3 separate regions of the Homo sapiens genome follow, and all the other regions are linked to region 3. The links are contacts of gene promoters, found by promoter capture Hi-C in blood cells and fetal thymus (Javierre and others, 2016). All regions are on one chromosome and are shown on one strand. The core of a region is centred on a gene start or on the middle of the fragment in contact, and the rest is flanking DNA. Distances in the headings are between cores, read along the strand shown. Region 1 overlaps ATP6V0A4 (ATPase H+ transporting V0 subunit a4). Region 2 overlaps ATP6V0A4 (ATPase H+ transporting V0 subunit a4). Region 3 holds the start of DGKI (diacylglycerol kinase iota).

Region 1 (3,220 bases), core at 696-3,195, 950 kb after region 3:
TTAGGTGTGAGCCACCATACCCAGTCCCAAAAACGGTTTTAATAGCTACCCTTTATTTCATTATAAACTGCTTCCAAGCTTTCACTTTTACAAACATTGTAATATTGAGATGGAGAACTTTGGATATGCATTTTTGTGCTCATCTTTGGTTATTTCCTTGGGGATGAAATTTCTAAAGGGCTACACCATAGAAGGAAAGGTATCCAAAATAAACTGACACACATCGTCTCAATTCCTGAGACCGGAATGACATGATAGCAGATTTGTGTTGCCCCCAAGCACTCGATTAAAGCAACAACAACAAAAATCATGTCTACAGGAAGAAAGCATTATCCTGGGTCTCAAGTTATTTCTATAAACAATAGTATGTAATTGCAATTTTGCCCACAATAAAAAATAACCAGGTATGCAAAGAAACATGATCATATGAATGAAAACAGCAGAAATAATAGACAATGGAAATAAACGAATGGGAAAAGAATGGCGAAGACTGAGGTTATCAGACACGGATTTTAAAGGAATTATATCCCCTCTGTTTATGAAGATGAAAAACAGGACTGAATAGTTTGGCAGAAAAAAAAATATAAAAAAGAACAGAATGGAAATTCTGGAACTAAAACTAAGATAATCGAAATTAAGAACCCAATGGGTAGTTATAAAAGAGGATTAGACACAGATGACAAGAGATTTCATAAAAGACTGGGCAAAAGGCAATATCCAGAGTAAAACACAGGAAAACAAAAAGATAAAGAATAAAGAAGAAGGTAAGAGAATTACAGGATGGAGTGGAAAGATCTAACCTATGTGTAATCAGTCACAAAAAGAGAGGAGAGAATGGTTCACAAGTAGTATTTGATGGCTGAGAAGTTTTCAAAACTTATTAATAACATCAAGCTCCATATCCAATTGCCTACAAACTCCAAAGAGGACAAAAAAGGAATCCATACTTCAGCACATCAGAGTAAAACTGCTGAAAACCAAAGGCAAAGAAAAATTTAAAAACAGCCAAAAAATAAAAGAGGCAAATTATCTGCAATGAAGCCCCAGTGAGGTGGACAGTTCTCAACAGAAACAATGGTAGCCAAAAGAAATGAAATGTTATCTTTAAAGCACTGAAAGAAAATATCTGCCAACCTTACATTTTGTACCCAATGAAGGTGATTTCCAAGAATGAAGGAAGAATAAAAACATATCCAGACAAACAAAGTAACATGTTAATCACTCCACTGAGGGAATACTAAATGGTATTCTTCAAAGAGAAGGAAAATGATCACAGATGGAAGACCAGACATGCAGAAATAAATTAAGAACAATAAACCGGTAAACATGTAAATAAATTTAATAAATTTCACTCATATATTCACTTGGAAAATAATAATAATAATGACTTATTGAGTTAAAAACTATGTGTATAACTAACATACATGACTACAATGGTATAAAAATCAGGAGTGGATAGGCCAGGTGTGGTGGCTCACGCCTGTAATCCCAGCACTTTGGGAGGCCGAGGTGGGCAGATCACGAGGTCAGGAGATCGAGACCATCCTGGCTAACACGGTGAAACCCCATCTCTACTAAAAATACAAAAACTTAGCTGGGCGTGGTGGCGGGCACCTGTAGTCCCAGCTACTCGGGAGGCTGAGGCAGGAGAATGGCGTGAACCCAGGAGGCAGCTTGCAGTGAGCCGAGATAGCGCCACTGCACTCCAGCCTGGGCGAGTGGGTAAATGGAGTTAAAGTTCTGAGGTCTTCATATTATCTATGAAAGTGGTGAAAGTGTCAATTAATATTAGACTTTGATATGTTAAGAATGCACTTGTGAGAACATATATTCAGGGTAACTTGGATCTATGCTCCTGGGTTGCAGAATAAAATAATCTTAAAAAGCAACAAAAAAGGAATGCATGTCGTAATCTCTACAAAATGGAATAACCCAACAACTCAATCCAAAAGTAGTGAGAAGAAAGAGAAAAGGAACATAAGCTAGATGGGAAGAGTAGAGAGCACTTGGTAAGCTGATAGATTGATTTGTTTGTTTTTAAATTTTAGAGACAGGGTCTCACTCTGTCACCCAGTCTGGAGTGTAGTGACTCCATCATGGCTCCCTGCCATCTCGGATCTCCTGGGCTCAAGCAATCCTCCTATCTCAGCCTCCTGAGTAGCTGGGACCACAGGCTTGCATCACCAAACTCAGGTTTGTTTTTTTTTTTGTTGTTTTGTTTTTTTTTTTGTAGCAACAGAGTTTCACTATGTTGCCCAGGCTGGTCTCACAGTCCTGGGCTCAAGAAATCCTCCCATCTTGAACAGGGTTTTAGAAAAGTTGAAAGTAATATGATGGGAAAATGATTTAGCATGCCAAACAAAACAAAAGAAACCTGTTATAGCTACAGCAATATCAGACAAAGTAAAGTTTATGGCAAAAAAACATTACTAGAGATAAAGAAGGCTGGGCGCAGTGGCTCACACCTGTAATCCCAGCACTTTGGGAGGCTGAGACGGGAGTCTCACCTGAGGTCAGGATTTCAAGACCAGCCTGGCCAACATGGTGAAACCCCTGTTTCTACCAAAAATACAAAAATTACCCGGGGGTGGTGGCACACGCCTGTAATCCCAGCTACTCAGGAGACTGAGGAAGAAGAATCGCTTGGACCCGGGAGGTGGAAGTTGCAGTGAGCCGAGATCGTGCCACTGCATTCCAGCCTGGGCGACAGAGAGAGACTCCATCTCAAAAATATAAAAGAGATGAGGGATATTACACAATGATTTTTTAAAAGAAGGTTCAATTTGCCAGGAAGTTGTCAAAATTCCGTATTTGTTTGTACCTCAATTACAGCCTCAAATATTGAATGCAAAAGTTGACAAAACTACAGGGAAGAAAGAAACCCGCAATCATCTCTGTATTCAACAGAATAATTAGACCAAATTTTAAAAGACAGGAAAAATATGGATGTTCTGAACCACACAATTAGCACTCTTGATCTAATGGACTTACCCGGAGCACTGACCCCACAACTGCATGACACATTCAAGAGCCACAAAAATTGGTCATATGGTGTCTTTTAACTAACATCAAAAAATAGAAATCATCAAAGTATATTCGCAGGTCACAGTGCAACTAAGCTACAAATCAATAACAAAAAGATAACTAGAAAACCTCCGTATGTTTGGAAATTAAGAAATATACTTCAGAGAAGATGGGAGGGAATAAGATACAGGACCTA
Region 2 (3,577 bases), core at 1,078-3,577, 910 kb after region 3:
TGAAGTGTGGGATCTATTGGCAAATACATCATCAGCATTCTCTGGGAGTTGTAAGAACTGCGGAATCTCAGGCCCCACTCAGACCCACTGACTCAGAATTTTTTTTTTTTTTTTTTTTTTTTTTTTTTTGAGGGAGTCTTGCTCTGTCACCCAGGCTGGAGTGCAGTGGCACAATCTCAGCTCACTGCAACCTCCGCCTCTTGGGTACCAGTGATTCTCCTGCCTCAGCCTCGCAAGTAGCTGGCACTACAGGTGTGCGCCACCACTCCTGGCTAATTTTTTTATTTTTAGTAGAGACAGAGTTTCACCATGTTGGCCAGGATGGTCTCAAATTCCTGACCTCAGGTGATCCGCCCACCTCGGCCTCCCAAAGTGCTGGGATTACAGGCATGAGCCACCATGCCCAGCCTATTTTTTTTTTTTTTTTTTTTTTTTTGAGATAGGGTCTCACTCTGTTCCCTAGGCTGGAGTGCAGTGGTGTGATCATAGCTCACTGCAGCCTTGACCTCCTGGGCTCAAGTTGTCCTCCCACCTCAGCCTCCTAAGTAGCTGGGACTACCGGTGTGTGCCACCACACTTGGTTAACTTTTTTTTGTAGAGATGTTTTCTTGCTATGTTGCCCAGGCTGGTCTCAATCCCCTGACCTCAAACGATCCTCCCACCTTGGGCTCCCAAAGCGCTGAGATTACAGGCATAAGCCACCATGCCTGGCCTGGAATTTGCATTTTAACAAGATCCCCGGGTGACCTCTATGCTCGCGTGCACATTGAAGCTTGAGAAGCTGACCTCAATCAGTTCTCAGTTCTTTAAGACACAGCTGCCGCCTAGGATAGTACTAGTATAACTAAGTTCTAGAGAAAAGTATAGCTATGTCTCTGGGAAGAATAAACCAGTTATGAGGTGTTGACAAGAATCAGTCCTTGAACTGACCTTTCAAATATATATTTTTAAAAAGGAACAAAGTAAAAGGGAAGGAAAAAAAGGAGAAAAAAAGGAAATAGATATTAGTCTCATCAAACTAAAGATCCCCCATGTTTTGGGAGAACGAAGCGCTTCTGCTGAGGGCTATGGGAAGTCTCAGAGAAAGTTTTTGCAGCCCAAGGTTCCCACCGTCACAGGATCCTCCAGAGGGGCGTCCATCTCACTGAACTTCAAGTACACGTTTCCTCGGCAGATTCGCCACAGTAACCGCTCAAAGGAAGCCATCCTCTCCCTGTTGATCACACCGGCTATGAACCTAGGCAGCCAGAAGGGAAGACATTCCTTAAGGCACAGGGATTGGGATGCAGAGAGAAGGCCCTGTAGGACGTGAAGACACACCATGAAAGGAAGGGCCATTCACTCTGTGAGCAGGAGGGACCCCGACACAGCTCTACCGACATGAGTCCCAAGGCCACCCCGCATCCAGCCCTGACTTGCCCCAAGTCCCTTTGACCTTCTGTTTTCTTTGGTATCTTGAAATATCCTTAATCATTCCAATACTATATCGTCACTAATTGCAATTAAGAATATGATAGAATGGCCAGGCGCCGTGGCTCACACCTGTAATCCCAGCACTTTGGGAGGCTGAGGCGGGCGGATCACCTGAGGTCAGGAGTTCGAGACCAGCCTGGCCAACATGCTGAAACCCCATCTCTACTAAAAATACAAAATTAGCCACACCTGGTGGCGTGCACCTATAGTCCCAGCTACTCAGGAGGCTGAGGTAGGAAAATCACTTGAACCTGGGAGGCGGAGGTTGCAGTGAGCCAAGAATGTGCCATTGCACTCCAGCCTGGGCAGAGAAGGGTGAAACTCTGTCTCAAAAAAAAAAAAAAAAAAAAGAATATGATAGACCATTCATCATGCATTGTAGCTAATGATAGCAAATATTCAACAGTAGTCTCTATGCATTTTTCCAAAAATATTTTAATACTAAGAGGGAAAAATACATTGATGTCTATATATATCTGTTTTTTCCATTATCCAAGCATGTAGATAACTGCTGACCCAAACTTCTCATGTTAGCCAGTGACTTTCACTGGCTTATTACTTTAAATGTTCATTGATCCTGTATTACTTTCTGATCAAATATTTCCAATAAATATTTTTATTTTCATTTCAAATTCAATGCCTAGTGCCTCAAATATCAGGCCCTCAAATATTTATTGAATAAAAAATCATAAATCCCAAACTCACAATTTTCAGAAATGCTTTAAAATGCCTCAATTTCACTTAGGCACTGAACAAAATCCTACCATTTTGAATCACCACATTATTTTCATGGCTACGACACATCATATCACTGCTTCTTGGAAATAACTTGATTGCATAACTATCCCATTTCTTTTTTTTATTAAAATTTTTTTTTTTGTAGACACAGAGTCTTGCTATGTTGCTCAGGCTGATCTCAAACTCCTGGCCTCAAGTGATCCTCCTGCCTCAGCTTCCCAAAGTGCTGGGATTATAGGCATAAGCCACCACATCTGACCCCCATTTCTAATTACATTTAAAAATGTATCCCGGGCAACACAGTGAGGCCTTGTCTCTACTAAAAAATTTTTTAAAAATTAGCCTGGCATTGTGCCTGTGGTCCAGCTACTCGCGAGGCAGAGGTAGGAAGATCACTTGAGCCTGAGAGGTCAAGGCTGCAGTGAGCTATGATTGCACCTCTGCACTCCAGCCTGGGCAACAGAGTGAGAGCCCGTGTCAAAAAAAAACACACAAATTCAGGCCAGGTGCGGTGGATCACACCTGTAATCCCAACACTTTGGGAGGCCAAGGCAGGCGGATCACGAGGTCAGGAGATCGAGACCATCCTGCCTAACACGGTGAAACCCCGTCTCTACCAAAAACACAAAAAAATTAGCCGGGTGTGGTGGCAGACGCCTGTAGTCCCAGCTACTCGGCTGAGGCAGGAGAATGGCGTGAACCTGGGAGGCGGAGTTTGCAGTAAGTCGAGATCAGGCCACTGCACTCCAGCCTGGACGACAGAGCAAGACTCTGTTTCAAAAAAAAAAAAAATTCAAACTCCAAATGCATTTTATTATCAAAGTAATATTTTATTTTATTTTCTTGAGCTGGAGTCTTGCTCTGTCGCCCAGGCTAGAGTGCAGTGGCACGATCTTGGCTCACTGCAACCTCTACCTCCAGGGTTCAAGCGATTCTCCTGCCTCAACTTCCTAAGTAACTGGTATTACAGGCACGTGCGACCATGCCTGACTAATTTTGTATTTTTAGTAGAGATTGGGGTTTCACTATGTTGCCCAGGCTGGTTTCAAACTCCTGACCTCAAGTGATCCACCCACCTCAGCCTCCCAAAGTACTGGGATTACAGGTGTGAGCCACCACGCCCGGCTCCCAAAATAGTATTTTAAAGAGAAAGGAAAAACATAAGTCCCCATAGCCTTGTTCCAACGCCAGGGAAGAGTTGTGATAACCCATCTGAACAATGATCCCCACAGCTTCCAATGGGGGAGCAATATAAACATTGCAGTCTTCAGGCTCAAGGAGGTCAGCATCGCCACTAACAAGAAGCTGACACCACTTCCGACTCCACCAACCTAGTAAGTTACATATGGGTCTATCGCTTGGCAGA
Region 3 (3,528 bases), core at 120-2,619:
CGGAAGGGAGGGGTGAGAGAGACCTTAATAAATCCTAATTCCTCGTTGTTGGATTCTAATACAATGTGGGGTTATCTTTTATCCTAATTTAAAGGCCATTGATCCCACACTGTCCTTGTCTTACACATACACTCATCCTTAGGTGCAAATATGGTCCCCACTCTCACCTTCACCCCTAGCTTGCCAGCGGGCTCCCCACACCCTCCTCCAGCCAGGAGAGAGGCAAGGAGCACGCAGGCATGGAGCCCCCATAACCAGTGGCGCATCTACAGACATAAACCCACTCTTCCTTCATGGGGGATTTCGAGGCAGGTCCAACTTCCATAAGGATTTCTCTTCAGTGTAGTGCTATTCTTTTCTGCCTGTCGGAGTGATCTCAGCTGTCAAGTTAGTGCCAAAGGTTCATCCAGCGAAATCTGGAAGGTGGGGGAAGGGTGGTTGAAGATGACACCTGCTTAGGGGCAACTTTGACGACTTCTCTTAAGAAAACTAAGCATCACTGAGTCTGCAACCCTTTCTCTCTCTCTCTTTCTCTCTCTCTCTCTCTCTCTCTCTCTCACACACACACACACACACACACACACACACACACACACACAGACAAAATTTCTGTTGCTCTGACCTTAGGGACCCAGTGCTTCTCTCCTGCCACAGGGGAAAGCAGGCGTTGCTGCCCTCCAGCCTGGAATGATAGGATGGGGAGAAGACAGACATCCCCGGGAGGAGAGGGGGAAAGGGGGAAGGAGAGGCGTGGAAACAGAGAGGTGCCCAACTCCGCGGAAGCGCCCCTTGCTGGGTAGAAGAGTGGGTCTCCCGCCGCGGCGCACCTGTCTCGGCTGCCGGCTCCCCGCACCTACCTGTACGAGACCTGCTTCCGGAAAGTTAAGTTCCTCAGCTTCTCCTCCAGCGCTTCGTCCTTCTCCTTCTGGCCGGCGGCCGCGGGCTCGTCCAGGGCAGCGGCCCCCGCCGCCGCGGCTGACCCTGCGCCCCGCGGGTCCGCGCCGCCCTCGGCGCCCAGGCAGCAGCTCCCGGCGCCGCTTCCGCTGCTGCTGCTGCCGCCCGTCGCCCCTTTCTCCTCTCCCGCCGAGGAGCTGGGGTTCATGGCGCCCGCTCCGGCGGCCGCGGAGGGAGCGCAGGCGGCGCCGCTGCAGGGGCCGGGCGGGCTGGCGGCGGCGGCGGCGGCGGCTGCAGGAGCGCGGGCAGGTCCGCGCGCCGCTGGCAGGGGCAGCAAATGGCAGCCCCTTCCCGCAGCATCCATCCGCGGCTGCACCGCACCGGGGCATTGTGGGAAACTCCGCTCACTCCCCCGCCCCGGCCAATCAGAGGCCGCCGCTCCCCGCCTCCCGCGCCCTCCCGCGCCGGCCCGCACCCTCCAGCCCCGCCGGCCTCTTCCTAAATCCCGAGCGAAAGCCCAAGCTGAACATGAACTCTGCCCGGAGGCGACGGGCTGCGGCGGAGGGGGAGAGAGAGGAGGACAGGCTGCGACCCCGGGCTGGGGACGCCAGGGCAGGGACAGCGAGCATCAGGAAGGAGAGCGTCCGGGGAACTCGAGTGGCCGCGCCCTGGGTCCTGCACCGTGAGGCTGGGGGGACCAGGACCGGCGGGCGCCCACCTTGGTCCTGAGCCCAGCTGCCGACGCTGGGCCAGCACCCTCTCCACCGCCGCCCTCCAGTGAGCAGAGCTGGGCTCAGGCAGCAGCCCCTGGGCGCGGGAAGGTAGCGGGAGCTGCATTTAGGGGAGGGGGGAGGTAGCAGGAGCTCCGCCAGTGGGAACCTTGGAGTGAATTCGTCGGCGGGTGCCAAGTCGAAGCGCCGACCTCCTGTCTCTGGACTGGGGCCCGGACCCCTGCGTCCCCAAACTGCGTCCCCGCCTTGCTCGTCGCCCGGTGCCTTCCTTAGGCGCAGCAGACCCTCGGTAAACAGCGGTTAATTCGATGGAATCGGATCACAGGGCCCTCGGTGAAGCAGAAAGGCGGAGGAAATCCAGGAGGCAGAAGTGAGGACCCTGGCGCCTGGCGCCGCTGCGTTGTTCGTATAAGAAGAGGCATCCCGGAAGGGGCTTCAAACCACTTAGGACCGACTGCTGAAACGAATCCAAGCTTGTGGTGTCTGCAGAATTTAACTGTCCGCCTCAACCCCAGTTTTTGTTTCTAAGATTATCGAAAACTGTGCGGTTTGAGTGATGTGCTACAAAGTGTTTAAAACAGATTGTTTCCCAAATTAGGGGTTTCCACACAAGAAATCGCTGCTGTCGGCAAACACAGGAACTATCTATGGTTAAGACAAGGTGGTGTTCGTAACCAAACTATAAACCTACATATACGAGGTGGTAAGAGAACCAGACCAATGAACAGTTTCAGGCTGGCGTGGTGTGCCCGTGAACAAAGAATTGTAATACTGGCAAAAATCTAAATTGCTTTCTTTCCCTTTATTTTCTCATCACTAAAATTAGGAAAATGAACAGATATGTCAAATCTCTTCTAACACCCATGTTCTGTAACTCTCCTCGTATGTACCTTATAATAAGACAAAGGTAAAGACATTTCCATGTGCAGCGAGGAAAAGTAATAATAAAAATTAAAACAACTAGCAAGTATGAAGCCCTCTTTTTATACGGTATGTGCTGTATAAGCACTTCCCTCATCCACCTCTATGTTTTCACAGCACCTCTCAAGGGCTTGGACACGTGCAAATGCAAACTGGCAAAGCCAGGAGTCAAGCCAGGCTGCTCAGTGGCCTTTGTGCTTCACCCCAGTTTAATGCACCCGTCTTCAGAAGGGACATCGTGTATTAGGTGCTTCAACACAAGATCCACGAATATCTCGTACATCCCTAAAATCAAGCAAATGTCATCTGAACCCAATTACTGGGACAGCCCCCTCATTACTCCCACTTACTTTTAGCCGTATCTTCCCCAATCCAATCTCAAGTGTGAGCCCCAAAATACTTCTGATTTTTCACGCCTCCACTTAAAAATCTTTTGATTATGTCATATTGCCGTTAGGGTAAAGTTCAAACAACTCAGCTGATTTTGAGGGCTACATTGGTGGGTGGTGGAGTACTGCCCGCTTTCCCTTCATACTGTCATGACAGTGAGGTTCTGAACTGTTCTTTGTGCAAACCCCACACGCTCTCTGCTCTCTCCATTCCCATTTTTGCACGTGTGAGTCTGCTGTCTCCTCTTCTTTGCTTCTCCTTTTCCTAAGATTTGCCAAGCCAACTACTCTACACCTCCATCGGATTTTAGTTTACATGTCTCTCCCCATGTTTCTCCCCACTAGAAGCCTCCGTTGATGATCCCTTTCTAGACTGTGATGGACGTACCTCCCATAGCTCCCATTGCACCATTGTACTAAACTTGGACCACTGCAACTGTCATGTGTCTATTTATCCCACATGTATATAAACGCTATATGTTGTTTATCACTATATCTTCAGTAATAATAAACAGGTAACATAATTGCATAAGTGTGTATATCATAGACCATCATGAAGTGTTTATTGACTGAGAAAAGAAATATACATCGTT

The links. The method cuts DNA at HindIII sites, captures the fragments that hold promoters and counts their contacts. A CHiCAGO score of 5 or more calls a contact.
Region 1: a fragment that was not itself captured here is called in contact with the fragment with the promoter of DGKI in region 3 in 1 of 17 cell types (neutrophils); the score reaches 5.2 in neutrophils.
Region 2: a contact is called between a fragment that was not itself captured here and the fragment with the promoter of DGKI in region 3, in 3 of 17 cell types (neutrophils, naive B cells and monocytes). The highest score is 6.0, in neutrophils.

What each region holds. Positions count from the first base shown.
Region 1 is chr7:138,790,569-138,793,788 of GRCh38, forward strand. All of the region lies in intron 1 of ATP6V0A4 (ATPase H+ transporting V0 subunit a4), which reads right to left. Among named protein-coding and RNA genes, the nearest start is that of TMEM213, 5.8 kb to the right of the region's middle. The HindIII fragment of the contact is 3,739 bases long and covers 77-3,220 here.
Region 2 is chr7:138,758,642-138,762,218 of GRCh38, forward strand. ATP6V0A4 (ATPase H+ transporting V0 subunit a4) reads right to left here. Exons shown (of 22, transcript NM_020632.3): 8 at 1,111-1,237. Among named protein-coding and RNA genes, the nearest start is that of TMEM213, 38 kb to the right of the region's middle. The HindIII fragment of the contact is 3,114 bases long and covers 771-3,577 here.
Region 3 is chr7:137,845,605-137,849,132 of GRCh38, forward strand. DGKI (diacylglycerol kinase iota) reads right to left here and starts at 1,370. Exons shown (of 33, transcript NM_001321708.2): 1 at 858-1,370. The coding sequence starts at 1,258. RefSeq lists an enhancer at 209-710 and silencers at 1,345-1,394, 1,879-2,173. The HindIII fragment of the contact is 3,155 bases long and covers 1-2,096 here.